Regions from separate parts of the Homo sapiens genome. Here region 2 is linked to region 1. The links are contacts of gene promoters, found by promoter capture Hi-C in human tissues and cell types (Jung and others, 2019). All regions are on one chromosome and are shown on one strand. The core of a region is centred on a gene start or on the middle of the fragment in contact, and the rest is flanking DNA. Distances in the headings are between cores, read along the strand shown.

Evidence for each region. The method cuts DNA at HindIII sites, captures the fragments that hold promoters and counts their contacts. A contact is called where the count stands out against the background at its distance.
Region 2: a fragment that was not itself captured here is called in contact with the fragment with the promoter of RAB40C in region 1 in 1 of the 25 tissues and cell types used here (lymphoblastoid cells).

Annotation. Positions count from the first base shown.
Region 1 is chr16:587,999-592,373 of GRCh38, reverse strand. It overlaps RAB40C (RAB40C, member RAS oncogene family), which reads right to left and starts at 2,308. Exons shown (of 6, transcript NM_021168.5): 1 at 1,941-2,308. The coding sequence starts at 2,082. RefSeq lists silencers at 2,098-2,417, 2,508-2,627, 2,698-2,747, 2,758-2,817, 3,138-3,447 and enhancers at 2,792-3,665, 3,788-3,987. The HindIII fragment of the contact is 16,228 bases long and covers 1-4,375 here.
Region 2 is chr16:197,257-201,631 of GRCh38, reverse strand. It overlaps LUC7L (LUC7 like), which reads left to right. Exons shown (of 10, transcript NM_201412.3): 6 at 2,394-2,570. Among named protein-coding and RNA genes, the nearest start is that of HBQ1, 19 kb to the right of the region's middle. The HindIII fragment of the contact is 3,095 bases long and covers 1,001-4,095 here.

The DNA of each region.
Region 1 (4,375 bases), core at 1,059-3,558:
CACTGCTGAAGCCATGCCAGGAGGAAGCGCGCTCAGCCTCAGTCCAGGTAATCCCACGCTCTGCCAACCCCCGAGTTGAGAGAGTGGGGGATGCTGCGCCCACACTCTCAGCAGCCAAAGGCAGACAATTCAGCAAATAGCAGACGCTCAGGGCAGTCAGACAGGACGGACAAGAGCCCAAGAAACAAAGCAAGGGGAGAGGGCAGGGACCAGGAGAGGTAAGTTCGCCAGCGTAGATGGCATTCCCTGAAGCGCAGATGGACTCTGGGGAGGCTGGATGCTGACTGCTCCCAGTTCATCTGGGGCCACATCCCATTCGGCTGGGTCCAGGCCCCCATGAGAGGGGATGAGGACCACACCGTCTCACTCACTCTGTTAACCACCTAAATTAAGAGGCATGCTCAGGCAGGCAAGCCCCAGTGATGCCACCTATCTAGTGTATTTTAGCCATGCCACTGGAAGTTAAAAACAAACGTTCAGGCCAGGCGCAGTGGCTCACGTCTGTAATCCCAGCACTTTGGGAGGCCGAGGTGGGCAGATCATGAGGTCAGGAGATTGAGACCATCCTGGCCGACATGCTGAAACCCCGTCTCTACTAAAATACACACAACAAAATTAGCCGGGCGTGGTGGCATACACCTGTAGTCCCAGCTACTCGGGAGGCTGAGACAGGGGAATCGCTTGAACCCAGGAGGCGGAGGTTGCAGTGAGCTGAAATTGTGCCACTGCACTCCAGCCTGGCGACAGAGTGAGACTCCGTCTCAAAAAAAAAAAAAAGAAAGAAAAGAAAAGAAAACAAAACAAAACAAATGTTCAGTAACTCATTACAGAGGTATTTTCTTCTAGCACAAAGCGTTGACTCCCTCAGCAGTAAGCAAATACCTCAGGGGAACAGCGTGCCTATAAGGACCTGTCATCTGTGCACGCTCGAGACAGGGTCCCAAGAGCAGCCCAGCAGCACCTGCCACCAGACCTGGGTCCGTGACACCTTCCCCGGGCCCATGACACCTTTCCCCAGATCTATAACACCTTCCCTCGGACCCCAGATGATCCCAGACCCATGACACCTTCCCTTAGGACCATGATGCCTTCCCCCAGATCTATGACACCTTCCCTCAGACCCCAGATGATCCTAGACCCATGACACCTTCCCCTGAGATCCCAGACCATGACACCTTCCCTTAGGCCCATGACACCTTCCCCTGAGATCCCAGACCCATGACACCTTTCCCCAGATCTATGACACCTTCCCTCGGACCCCAGATGATCCCAGACCCATGACAGCTTCCCTTAGGACCATGATGCCTTCCCCCAGATCTATGACACCTTTCCTCGGACCCCAGATGATCCTAGACCCATGACACCTTCCTTTTGGCCCATGACGCCTTCTACCGGGACCATGACATCTTTCCCCGGACCCCAGATCCTGGACCCATGACACCTTCCCTCGGACCTATGACACCTTCTCCCAGACCCCAGATCCTGCACCCATGACACCTTCCCTCCGGCCCACGACACCTTCCCCCGAGCCCATGACACCTTCCCTCGGACCCCAGATGATCCTAGACCCATGACACCTTCCCCAGGCCCATGACACCTTCTCTAGGACCCATGACACCTTCCCCTGGGCTCCAGATCCCGGACCCATGACACCTTCCCCTGAGATCCCGGACCCGTGACACCGTCCCCCAGACCCCGGGTCCATGGCACCGTCCCCGCTGGGCGCGTCCCTCTGGTCCGTCCTCCTGCCCCCCGGCGTCACCTCGGGACTGGAGCACGGGCACCCCGCAGCCACCGAGCTACCGAGTCTGGAAGCCAGGCAAAGGCGTTCCTGGGAACGTTCGGCGGCGCTTGGAAGGGCCGGGCCGAGGGCGAGCTCCGTGCCCAGCTCGCCGGGCTCGGGCCCCGCGTAGCAGCGCGCGCCGCGGGCCGGGCCTTACCGTTACTGTAGGCGTACGGGGACTCTGCCGCGCCGTCCTGCAGGCTCTCCAGGATCTCGCCCTTGCCCACGTCGCTGTCGCCCACCAGCAGGAACTTGAGCAGGTAGTCGTAGCTCTTCACCGGACTGCCCTGCGAGCCCATGGCCGCGCCGCCTGCGCCCCGCGCCGGCCGCCTGCCGAAGCACCGCCGGGTGAGGCCGCGGCGTGAGAGAGCCCGCGCCCCGCACCTGCGCCCGTTGCGTCCGCCCCACGGCGGCCGAGTGGGCGCGCCCGAAGCCCAGCGCCGGCCCCGCCCCGCCCGCGCCCGGGCGCACCTCAGCCTCGCCGCCGCCCCGCCGCTTCCCGCACCACCAGGGCCGCCGCGCCGCCCCACCCCCGGCCGCGCCGCCGCCATTGGCCACCCTTCGCCCGCCCTCCCGAGCCCATTGGCCCACCCGCCCGTCCGTCACGACTTCCCCGCCCTCACGGCGTTCCACACGGCGCCGCCAGACCTCCGGTCGCACCGCCTCTTCACCACCCCGCCCTGCCTTCCCGTAGTCACCAGAGGTCGCCCGCCGCCCTCCTTCCCTCAGCCATTGGCCTGTCTGCACGTCTGTCATGACCGCCCCTCCCCCGCCTTTCCCACACGGCGTTGCGGAGACAGCGGACGCCTGCCTCATCGCCGTCGCCATTGGCCACTCGCCTCCTGCTTTCCCGGAACCATTGGTTCGATTATAAGTTCACCAAGATCATTCCCTTCCCTGCGGCTGCCTCCCAGAGAAATCCCAGAGCCGCCGGCCGCCCCGCCCCCGGCCCACAACGCCGTTGTCCTCGCCCGCCCCGTCGCCGGCGCCATTGGGTCGCTTGCATGTCCATCACGGCTCTGCTAACCCCGCCCCTTTCCTACACGCTCGCCAATCAGGGGCTCGGAAGTCCACGTTGTTTGTATCCGCCCCTTCAACGCGCGGACGGGCGGCAGGATGCAGGCGCGCCCGAGCCGAGGCGATGCGGCTGAGTCCGGGAAACGAAAGCCCCTCGCAGGCTGTGCCGCCTGCTTCCGCAGAACCCTCGGAGGGAGCGGCGGGGTGGCCCCGGGCGCGTCCTCTCTAAGGCGGTGCGGCCAATCGGCGCTCGATGAGGCGGAACTTCCTCTCCGGGGCAGGGGCGGGACTTCCGCCCGGCGGCGGCGGGGCGCACCGTTGGGTCACCAGTGAGTCTGCAAAGTCGCTGAGGTTCTGGGACAGCGCGGCGTCACCGAGCGTGAGCCTTCCGCCCGGGGACGCGGCCGCCACAGCTCGGGACGCGGGGAGCGCGGCCGGCGCGAGCTCAAGACCCGGCCCGACGTGCTCACTGCGGCAGCGGCGCCTCCTGGACGGGGACCCAGGGCCCGGACCGCGCTCTTCCCGGGGGCGCCGCCGAGCCCTCGTCCCTGCCGGGCCCGGCTGCCGCAGGTGCGTGGGCGAGCGAGGCGGCTGCGTCCGCGGGCCCCGGCGTGGGGTCGGGGGTTGAGTGGGCACGTGGTTCTTTCTGGGGTGACGAGAAGGTCCTACCGTCGTGGGGATGGTCCTGCCTCTCTCGGTGAAGTTACTCACTCGGAACGGGTGAGCTTTGTGATACGTGCTCTGCGTTCAGTAGCGCTGTTACAGTCGTAAGTAAAAGCAGTAACGTCAGCGCCGACCCAGCGCAGCCCTCTCCAGACCGGGTGCGGAGCCCGTCACGTCTGCCCCGCCGGCGAGGAGCAGAGCCCGGCAAGAACCCTCCTCCAGAGGGGCCCCGACCAGGGCTGTGCCTCCGGGAGCAGGTGCTGCTTACACAGAGGGACGCCAGGACGGGCAGCCCCACACCTCCAGTGACCTCCCGTCCCCCAGAGCTGAAGACATGGCCTGACTAAGCGGCGACCACATCGACGCACCAGTTTTTTCTTTTTTGAAACAGGGTCTCCCTTTGTCGCCCAGGCTGCAGTGCAGTAGCGCGATCTCGGCTCACTGCAGCCTCTACCTCCCCGGCACAAGCGATCCTCCAGCCTCAGCCTCCCGAGTAGCTGGGACTACAGGCGCCACCATGCCCGGCTACCTTTTGTATTTTTTGTAGAGATGGCGCCTTGCCAAGTTCCCCAGGCATTAACCCGGAAACAACCTGGCGGGTCAGGGAGAGCCTCTTCTGCTCAGAGGTCATTGTGCCCAGACTTGAGCCCTGGCTGTGAAGTCCCTGAGGCCCCTCACTCCAGGGACGGGAAGCACCAAAGATGTGATGTTTCCTCCTCGGTTTCTGAGACTGCCTGGAAGCGGGGGGTGGATAGTGGTGAGCAGCCGTCTCCTCCTTTCCTGAGAACATAAATCAGAAACGCTTTCTGAGGCCGGGCACGGTGGGTCATGCCTGTAATCCCAGCACTTTGGGAGGCTGAGGTGGGTGGATCACCTGAGGTCAGGACCAGCTTGGCCAACATCGTGATAACC
Region 2 (4,375 bases), core at 1,299-3,798, 390 kb after region 1:
CCGTCTCTACTAAAAATACAAAAAATTGGCCGGGCGTGGCGGCGTGCGCTTGTAGTCCCAGCTACTCAGGAGGCTGAGGCAGGTGAATGGTGTGGACCCGGGAGGCAGAGCTTGTAGTGAGCTGAGATCGTGCCACTGCATTCCAGGCTGGGCGACAGAGCGAGACTCCGTCTCAAAAAAAAAAAAAAAGTTATGTAAATGGAATCATACAGTAGGTAACCTTTTGGGACTGACTTTTTTTACTCAACATAATCAGAGTTTATTTTGAAAGATGTTAGAAGGTGGCATTTAAGGTTTCAAAACTATAGAAGGGGACAGAGTAATGTTATGAATATTTGTGTACCACAATATTGTTTTTGCTTAAGTTTTTTTTTTTTTTTTTTTTTTTTAGTTATGTAGCATACTATAATGGAAATTCAAGTTCTTGCTAGTTCCTTGTCTACTTTTTTTTTTTTTTTTTTCTCAGACAGAGTCTCGCTCTGTCGCCCAGGCTGGATTGCTGTGGTGCGATCTCGGCTCACTGCATCCTCTGACTCCCGGGTTCAAGTAATTCTCAGACTCAGCCTCCCGAGTAGCTGGGATTACAGGTGCCAGCCACCGTGCCCAGCTAATTTTTTTGTATTTTTAATAGAGACGGGGTTTCACCTTCTCGGACTCCTGACCTTGTGATCCACCTGCCTTGGCCTCCCAAAGTGCTGGGATTGCAGGTGTTAGCCACTGTGCCCAGCCTATTTTTTTTAATATTAGAGGGTCCTGCTGTCAGCCAGGGTCACCCAGGCTGAAGTACAGTGGCGCAGTCACAGGTCACTGCCCCTTCAACCTCCTGGGCTCAAGCAGTCCTCTCGAATCAGTCTCTTGAGTAGGTGGGACTATAGGCACGTGCCACCACAGCGGGCTAATTATTTTCTTATTTTTAGAGACTGAGTCTTGCTGTGTTGCTCAGGGTGATCTCAATCTCCTGGGGCCAAGTGATCTTCTTGCTTCACTCTCCTAAAGTGCTGAGATTATAGGTGTGAGTCACTACACCAGGCCTGGAATACAATTTTTTTTTTTTCCTTTTTGGAGTTTTCCTCTGTCCTCCAGGTTGGAATGCAGTGGTGTGATCTCAGCTCACTGCAACCTCCACCTCCTGGGCTTAAACAATTTGTGCCTCAGCCTCTCCAGTAGCTGGAATTACAGATGCCTGCCACCATCTGGCTTTTTTTTTTTTTTTTTCTTTTGAGACGGAGTCTCGCTCTTTCGCCCAGTGGCATGATCTTGGCTCACTACAAGCTCCGCCTGCCGGGTTCACGCCATTCTCCTGCCTCAGCCTCCTGAGTAGCTGGGACTACAGGCGCCCGCCACCACGCCCAGCTAATTTTTTCTGTTTTTTTAGTAGAGACGGGGTTTCACCGTGTTAGCCAGGATGGTCGTGATCTCCTGACCCCATGATTCGCCTGCCTCAGCCTCCCAAAGTGCTGGGATTACAGGCGTGAGCCACCGCGCCCGGCCAATTTTTGTATTTTTAGTAGAGACAGGGTTTTGCTATGTTGCCAGGCTCGTCTTGAACTCCTGGCCTCAAGTGATCTGTCTGCCTTGGCCTCGGAATGCTGGGATTACAGGCGTGAGCCACTGAGCCCAGCCTGTTAGTACCTTTTTTTTTTAAGATGGAGTCTCGCTCTGTTGCCAGGCTGGAATGCAGTGGCACGGTTTTGGCTCACTGCAACCTCCGCTTCCCAGGTTCAAGTGATTCTCCTGCCTCAGCCTCCTGAGTAGCTGGGACTACAGGCATGTGCCACCACACCCAGCTGATTTTTGTATTTTTAGTAGAGACGGGGTTTCACAAAGTTGGCCAGGATGGTCTCGATCTCTCTTTTTTTTTTTTTTTTTTTTTTTGAGACAGGGTTTTGCTCTTGTTGCCTGTGCGATCTCAGCTCAACAGCAACCTCCGCCTCCCGAGTTCAAGCCATTCTCCTGCCTCAGCCTCCAGAATAGCTGGGATTACAGGCATGCGCCACCACACCCGGCTACTTTTGTATTTTTAATAGAGATGGGGTTTCTCCATGTTGGTCAGGCTGATCTTGAACTCCGGACCTCAGGTGATCCGCCAGCCTCAGCCTCCCAAAGTGCTGGGATTACAGGCGTGAGCCACCGCGCCTGGCCTGGTCTTGATCTCTTGACCACATGGTCCGCCCACCTGGCCTCACAAAGTGCTGGGACCGTGCCTGGCCGCGTTTCTTAAATAAACAGTGAAAATTGAGTTGGTTATAAATATCTGAAGTTTTGTTTGTGTTTTTTTAATATTTGTTTAAAAGTCACCTCTGTCATCTTATCAAATATTTTCATTTTGGAGATTGAATTTGTGGTGGCAGTTCTATATACCTCACTTTTATTTCTCCATTTTCCTTCTTCAGGAAGAATACAGAAATTCCATGCCTGCATCCAGTTTTCAGCAGCAAAAGCTGCGTGTCTGCGAGGTCTGTTCAGCCTACCTTGGTCTCCATGACAATGACCGTCGCCTGGCAGACCACTTCGGTGGCAAGTTACACTTGGGGTTCATTCAGATCCGAGAGAAGCTTGATCAGTTGAGGGTATGTTCATCTGTTTCTGGAGAAAGCTGAGGAGTCTTGGGGTGTTTTCACATTTCTTTAATTTTTAAAAACCTTATGTTTTGGCCGGGCGTGGTGGCTGATGCCTATAATCCCAGCACTTTGGGAGGCCGAGGTGGGCGAATCACCTGAGGTCAGGAGTTCGAGACCAGCCTGACCAACATGGTGAAACCCCGTCTCTACCGAAAAATTAGCCAGGTGTGTTGGTGTGAGCCTGTAATCTTAGGTACTCGGGAGGCTGGGGCAGAAGAATTGCTTAAACCCAGGAGGCAGAGGTTGCAGTGAGCCGAGATCATGCCATTGCATTCCAGCCTGGGCTATAGAGTAAGACTCCATCTCAAAAAAAAAACAAAAAACATTATGTTCTGATCTCTAAGAACTTGAGTTTTATAGTGAAATACGCAGATTTCATCACTTGGATTCACACAAGAGACATGATAGCTCAGAGTCCAAAGGAGCCTTGGAGATTTATTTTGGACCCTGTCGTTAAGGGAAGAAAATGGCAGAGCCTGTTCCCAGAATACATACAGCTCGTTGTGTATCTCTGAAATAACTTCTGTTAGGAGATGAGAAAGAATCTCTGGTTGGTCAAGACAGAGTGTCACACATCCTGGCTCCTTGCCTATGAGCCACCTCAGAAGGGCGGGGTGAAGATGGGGTTTTTCTGGTAGCATTGTACCATCCCAGCCCAGAGAAAACCTCTGTTCCTTCTTCAAGACTCTAAGACATTTAAAAACTTTTTTTTTTTTTTTTTTTTTTTTTTTTGAGATGGAGTCTCGCTCTGTCGCCCAGGCTGGAGTGCAGTGGCCCAATCTCGGCTTACTGCAAGCTCCGCCTCCCAGGTTCACACCATTTTCCTGCCTCAGCCTCCACAGTAGCTGGGACTACAGGTGCCTGCCACCACGCCCGGCTAATTTTTGTTGTTGTTGTTGTATTTTTAGTAGAGACGGGGCTTCATCGTGTTTGCCAGGATGGTCTCGATCTCCTGACCTCGCGATCCGCCCGCCTCAGCCTCCCAAAGTGCTGGGACCACAGGCGTGAGCCACCGCACCCGGCCGACATTTAAAAACTTTAAGTACGGAATGCTAAGAAGGAAGGTTGGACGTATTTCCACTACTTTGAATTGTCTCCCTTCACACTGATGGAGCCCCCCTTACCGCATACTAGGACCTCAGGATAGGATGGTGGGAAATTAGCCAGCCTCCCCCTGTATACCTGAAATGTAGTGGAGGGACAGACGTGTCGCTGACTGCAGAATGCTGCAGTGACCACGGCTGAGGGCCTTTTGTGCCCCAGGAAAGAGCTGCTCACTCAGGCCGCATATGGCAGGGCTGTGCACCTCAGGAGGGTCCCATAGGTGATGGTGTGAACCTGGGACTGTGATGGGAGCTGGTGCAGCAGTGAGGTTATTCTCGGCCACTGGTCTTGAAACATTTTACTTCCGTGTTCCCGAGAGAATTTTGAAAAGCAATGTACTCTGTCAAAGTTGGAATTTTTCTTTATAAGTTTATAGGTATGAAAGATGTAAAAGTGAGGCTGGGTGTGGTGGCTCACGCCTGTAATCCCAAACTTCGGGAGGCCGAGGCAGGTGGATCACGAGGTCAGGAGTTGAAGACCAGCCTGGCCAACATAGTGAAACCCCGTCTTTACTAAAAATACAAAAATTAGCCAGGCATGGCAGCGGGCGCCTGTAATCCTGGCTACTCGGGAGGCTGAGGCAGGATAATTGCTTGACCTGGGAGGCAGAGGTAGCAGTGAGCTGAAATTGTGCCACTGCACTCCAGCCT